2 separate regions of the Homo sapiens genome follow, and region 2 is linked to region 1. The links are contacts of gene promoters, found by promoter capture Hi-C in human tissues and cell types (Jung and others, 2019). All regions are on one chromosome and are shown on one strand. Each heading gives the region's core, a stretch centred on a gene start or on the middle of the fragment in contact. The rest is flanking DNA. Distances are from core to core; before and after follow the strand shown. Region 1 holds the start of TMPRSS7 (transmembrane serine protease 7). Region 2 has its middle 63 kb from the start of PLCXD2-AS1.

Region 1 (2,973 bases), core at 316-2,815:
CACTATGCCTGTCCACAGTCCTTTTAGTATATGTGTGTGTTTCACATGTTTGTATTATATTGTTTTTCTCTCACAATCAATTATTTCTGGGCTGATGCAGGATTGAAAATAAGAAGATAAGTGAGTTCCCCACAGAAATGAATTGATTTCCTAGTTACAGCTTCATGACTGGGTGGTAGGAAGGAAAAGTAAAGGTGATATGATAATTTGCATAGATTGTACAAATTTGTGCAATTTGTAACTGCACAAATTGTTCGTAAAGCATGTGTGTTTACATACGGTTGTAGGGTTGTGGGTTTATAGGAATTAAATATGTTTGTTTTGCCATTGCCAGCCGCTGCCATTGCCAGCCACAGTTTCTCAATTATAAATGAAATAATTATTTAAAAGTAAATGGAAGAATGAAATAGAACACTCATTAGATTAGAAAATTGTTGGTTTAAGTGTATTGATGTGCATAGTGTTATGTGCAAGAGTAAAAAATACATTATTTAATTGTTTCCCTTCCTCCTCTTTTATTTTCTTGTCTACCCTCTGCTATTTGATGCTGTGAATTCTTTAATAATGTATTCAAGAGTTTAGCTTCATTTAAGGAGAGATTTATACAAGTCAGGGTAACTAAACTCCAGAGACGAAATAGCTTTTAACCACACATTCTTTTAAAGGCAACAATATGGAATGCCAATGCCAAAGAAATAATCTCTCTTTTGCACTGTCCTTAAGAGTTCTCTCCTTCTCTTTTCCTCTCCCTCACTCTTCTCTTCAAAATTCATGCCCTCCAGTCTTTAATCTTGCCAATTAATGGGATAATACGTGGCCACGTACACTCTGAATTATTCATGGCCCCTTCATTCTTTTTGCCAAACACCTTGTCAACCCCTGGAGTGAAGTGTTGCTTGTATCCTTTCTGGTGAAATTGAACTAGACCAGACATCATTTAATGTGGTGTCCTGCAGGAATGAGGACTGGGTTTCTAAAGAGAGAAACATTCCATTGTAGAATGAGTTGTCGATGGTATCAAGCTACTTTCAAGTGCTCCCCCAAAAGAAATAAAGAAACACGCAGAAATGCCAGTACATGTTGAACTGACAAAGCCAAGTTTGGATCTTTTAAGTGCAGAAACACATTATAGGCAGTCTCAGTTAGCACTGATTAAATTTTAAAATGGAATTTGTGTAGAGATCAGTACAATTTCCCTGGAGTTTTAGAAAAACGGCTACAAATCAATTGCCAAGTACAGCACTTTATAATAAGCTCACATTTGTAAAACCCATTAATTACCATAAGAAGATAAAATATTTTATTATTGTTTCCTTTATGTTTATAAGGTCATACAATCTCATTTTACTAACAGGGTCAACAATAAATGGCATTCAAGTAAGAGAAAGTTTCTCACCCTGTACTTACTTTCAGGTCAGCAGGTGCGGCTGAAACATCGCTGTTTTCTTTGTCCATTATTAGGCGTTTTGTGTGTGATCATCCAGGGGTGTCTCAAAGCCAGTTTTTGCCCCTTATATGCTCTCTTGAGAAGAATTGAGAGAACCGTCACCGCATTCAAGCTAGCTTTCAGAGGAGTGGAATCAATTTACCTCCACCGGGTTCAGTTCAGAAACTGAAGCCGCCTCATTGCTATATTGTAAATGTTAAAGGGACCTAGCACTCAGCTTTGCACCCCAAACTCAAGGATTCTCAATGTAACTTTCATAGGAGTCAGGCCTCTCAGAGTACAGCCAGCCTCAAGGCAAGGTTTTCTTATAAGAAACACAATCCTACAATCCAGTAACATTTAAAAATCATTATAATTTTTTTCTTGCATCTCCTAAAGAATATGAAGAGGTCTAATTTACAACCCTCAGCACCACATCTGAGAAGTCCTCACACCTCATTTCTCTTGCGTGGCATCTCTTGCCTGCTCCAGGAGACTCACTCTTCAGTCCTGCTCTCAACTCTCCAGCCATACTCTCTGAGAACTCATAATCCAAAGGGACTTTTTTCCATTTAGCTCCCCCTACTTCTTGCAGTCAGTCCTCAGTAAACCTGGGGCCCTTTCTGCTGTAAAGCCCCTGTTTCCATCTCTCCCATACTTCCCAATGTCAATCTGAATTAGATCCATGGTGGGAAGAATAATCCAATCCTGAGGGGCAGTGTCAGAATTTCTCTTAGCAGACGGGGAGAAAAAGGCAGGGATTGCTGGAACCTCATCACCCTGTGGGCACTGGGTGTCAACAGAAAGCTGATCTGTCACGCTTTAAAGGAGAAACACTGTTCTGCTGATCCAGACACAAACTTCAGCATCATTCACGGGCTGTGCATATGGCAAGTGAGAAACTGCCTGCTGAAAGTGGGGAAAGATTAGTTGAGTTGCTTCATACCTGAAATTTGATCTAACTTGGGGAAGATGAGACAGAATAACAAAAAAAAAAAAAAAAAAAAAAAAAGAATTAAGTCATGTACAAATTCGCCTCTTGGGTTTTGTTATTTATTATTCACATTGATGAAATTATTAATAATGGTTTAGACTTTATAATATTACTTTTAATGGCTCATCTTTCCAGTATTATTTCTCTACCTATTTCTAGAACTAACTCATATTTCACCAATATAAGTAAAATTTGTATACTTATCGGTGGCCATTGACAAAGACTCTCTTCTTGACCAAAGTGTTGTCAGGTTACTCTGAGCTCTCTTTTCAACTAGACCTTGTCCTTGGGCCTTGTCTTTGGCCCATCTGGTCAGTTTAGCAGGAATCCCCCCGCCTTGATATCTGATCACCCTTGATTTTGCTTTCTTTTTCTTTTCTTTCTTTCTTTCTTTCTTTTTTTTTTTTTTTTTTTTTTTGATTCAAGAGTGGCCTTGAAATACCCTTGATATCTGATCAAGTTCTTTATCCCCTACCCTTGATATGTAAGTCCTTGGCTGCCTGTAACAAGAATCCTGATTGGTCAGTTTAGCAAGGATGCCCCTTGGTGTTTC
Region 2 (3,128 bases), core at 480-2,979, 290 kb after region 1:
CATATTAAAATTCTTTCCACGTAACACACACACACAGACACACACACACACAGAGACATGCACACACACACATGGACACACACAAACTTGTAAATTATTTTAGTTCCATCTCAGTCACAGCAAGACACTTGGTGCCCACAAATGCCTGAAGATTTATGGCATGAAAGTCTCCTCTGTTGAAAATGCTGCCTCCCTCTCTTTTGGCCTAGTGGGCAGTGAAGCATGGGATTATCAGAAACAGTTCTGCATCTTCTGGAAAGCCTCTACTGGATAAGCCCCCTCTTCCCTTTTTCACTGTGAGACAGGTGCTCGGGCACAGATGGGAGACCCATGGACTCTGACTTCCTTGACTATCAATGAGTGAGGGCTGTGGGTAGGTGTATGAGATGAGTTTTTGAAAGTAGGAAAACAGAGTTCTATTTTACCTCATGCTCTGAAACTCTTTTTCTCCTGCTAGAAAGCTGGCAGTGCTAGAGAATCCAGTCCAATAATAGGAATTCAGTTCAATTCAAGAAGCAATGGTGCTCACTGATTGGAGAACTTGTAAAGGTGCCAGCTGGTACTTGGTGGTTAGCATTAGGACTATGTGAGATTGTCTCCATGTTTCAGCACCTTGTCATCATTGTTCATATTTCTTTGTTTTTAGCTTTTCTCCCCCCTCTCCTCTCCCCACTGTTTCTTTTTTTTTTTTTTTAACTTGATGGGCATGAAATGAGGCATTGAGGTCTGTATTTGAGTTAAGTTTGACATTGATAATCATTGTTGGACTCATGGGCTGTTCTGATTCTCTGACTTTGTTAAGAGATACTATATGGTTGAATCATAAGCCTGTCCTCTTCCTAGCCTACCTTAAGTGAATGTATTTGGTGGGGGGGCAAGCCAAGGGTGACTTTTGGTGATTGTTAGTTTTGTGGCTTCTAAAAAGTGAGTGTAGTTAATACGGTTGTGACAGTCAACTAAGCATTATATATTGTGTTACGTGTTATCTATCCTTCTTCCCAAGAGACTACCTAAGAAGAAGTTAGTTAGATATTAGGAATAGAGTAGAAACAGAGAAGTGGGTATACTCAGTAAGATTTTTGTGGAGTAAAGCAGAAAGTCACTTGAAGACTCCGCCAAGAAATCAGTGTGTTCTTACTGAATTTATGGCATCGTCTGCCCACTTCATGTACCTCGAAAATTACCAGATATCCCCTGGTGATGATAGTTAATTAATTCTCTCTCTCTCTCTCTCTCTCATATTTAATGAGGACAATAATAGGCAGCAAAGTGATGCAGCCTCTAAATGCAACTGAGACATAAGATCATTGATGTCCAATTTCTTTCAGCGTTTTTCTTCTTGGACCAGAGGTTCTTTGCCATCACTTGTGATTGTGGTTCTTCAGGGTCTTAGCACTCCCTAGGCATGGGTCTGGGTGATAAGGTAAACCCGTGTGAGCCATGATGATATCACACTTTATTTACTGAAATGTCTAGCTGTGCCTTGCTGTTTGGTGCAATTAGTAGGTTCCTTTGAGTTGTACTGCCCGGGCTGCCTTCTCTCATACAGTATCATAGTGAGCAAGCATTATTCTTTCCTTTTTATGTGGAGAAGGAGAGCAAACAGAAGTAAAATAACCTCAGGTAAAAAAAAATTTTAAAAATGCTTGAAATAGAATGTCATAATTCTGCTAGTCATCTTGAGGACCATTCATTTCTGCAGATTTTAATAGGGAAACCAGACTTCCTCTTAAAAAAAAACCTGCCTTTTTGGTTCGGGGCCTGGAGGATGCAGTCTCCCTTCTTTGATATGCCCTCTCTTCATTACAAATAGCCTTTTATGAAGCTTACAAGAAGGGACACGAGCACAGGCACCCAGTTAGCAACAACCTGGGTGAGTAAACCTGGGCAGGGTGCCTGGGGTGGCTCAGGGAGAGGCAGGGAGACAGGGGTGATCTCAGGATTCAGAGCAGACTCAAAGCTTTTCTGTAGCCTGTGACCATTGTTTTTTTTTTTTGTTTGTTTTGTTTTTTTTTTTTTTAACTTCAGAAGAGGTGTGGATCTGTCCCTCACTCTCTGCCTTTTGTTTATAATGTCATCTTCTCCTCCTCCTCCAAACACACACAGTTCCATCTGACTCACTGCCATGTTTCTGTAACCTTGGGCAAGTCACGTCACCTTTAAGGGCTTCCGTTTATTTATAAAGAGAGAATGATAGTCATGACTGACTGCCTGCTGGAGCTTGCATTAGTGGCACACAGGCGTGGCAAAGCTGAGTGCTGGACAAGAGAATTCAGATGTGGTTTCTTTACTCTCCCAGCCAAGTGGGCTTCTTCTCTAGTAAAGATCAATGCCCAGACTCACCAATTTATAACATCTTCAAGGTGGCATAGCTGGGATCTCTTGAGCAGCTTTTTCATTCCCCTTATTTACCCAAGAGATAGGAATGATCTCCCTAGATAAATTAAAATTATTTCTGTATTTTCCGTAAAGAACTTTCTGAAGTAAACTTTTCTAGTTTTTCATAGAACACAGAATATCAAAACTAGAGAAGACATTAGAGATGTTATACTCTCAATCCCCTGCCTCCATTTTGAAAATGAGAAAATTGAGGCCACGAAAGCCGAAGTGACTTGCCCAGAGTTGCCCTGTTGGTGTGTGTAGTAGCAGAATCAAACACAACCGAGGTCTCCTATGTGCTGTACCATTCAGTTGGGGGTTGGCAGAAGAGCAAGTAGACCCTTGATGCCCTATTCCCTCTACACCAATGGTTAACACTTCTGATTCTTTCTTTAGTCTCCCCTAGCAATTCCAGTTTTCTTTTTATAAATCAATTTCTTGATTAAATTCCTAGCTGATTACTAGTTTAGTATCACCAACAAATATTTACTGAGAACCCATTATCTTCTTGGTACTGTATAATGATTAAAAGTACACATACACACACAGATACATACACACAGGCAGACACACACATACACACACACTAACATACACACAAATATAGAGGACTCTAAAGAAGCTGTGGTTTGGCCTACTGGATAAATTTAAAACCTTCTCATCTCTGGTAAGTGGCAAGATTATTTAATCCTATGTCAAAGACAGTGTCTAACACACTTCTGGGAAAGAGTAGATGATTGTTGCTGAAC

Evidence for each region. The method cuts DNA at HindIII sites, captures the fragments that hold promoters and counts their contacts. A contact is called where the count stands out against the background at its distance.
Region 2: a contact is called between a fragment that was not itself captured here and the fragment with the promoter of TMPRSS7 in region 1, in 1 of the 25 tissues and cell types used here (aorta).

Annotation. Positions count from the first base shown.
Region 1 is chr3:112,033,328-112,036,300 of GRCh38, reverse strand. TMPRSS7 (transmembrane serine protease 7) reads right to left here and starts at 1,565. Exons shown (of 18, transcript NM_001395507.1): 1 at 1,408-1,565. The coding sequence starts at 1,455. The HindIII fragment of the contact is 15,104 bases long and covers 1-2,973 here.
Region 2 is chr3:111,738,466-111,741,593 of GRCh38, reverse strand. It overlaps a transcript of PHLDB2 not described here. Among named protein-coding and RNA genes, the nearest start is that of PLCXD2-AS1, 63 kb to the right of the region's middle. The HindIII fragment of the contact is 3,475 bases long and covers 1-3,128 here.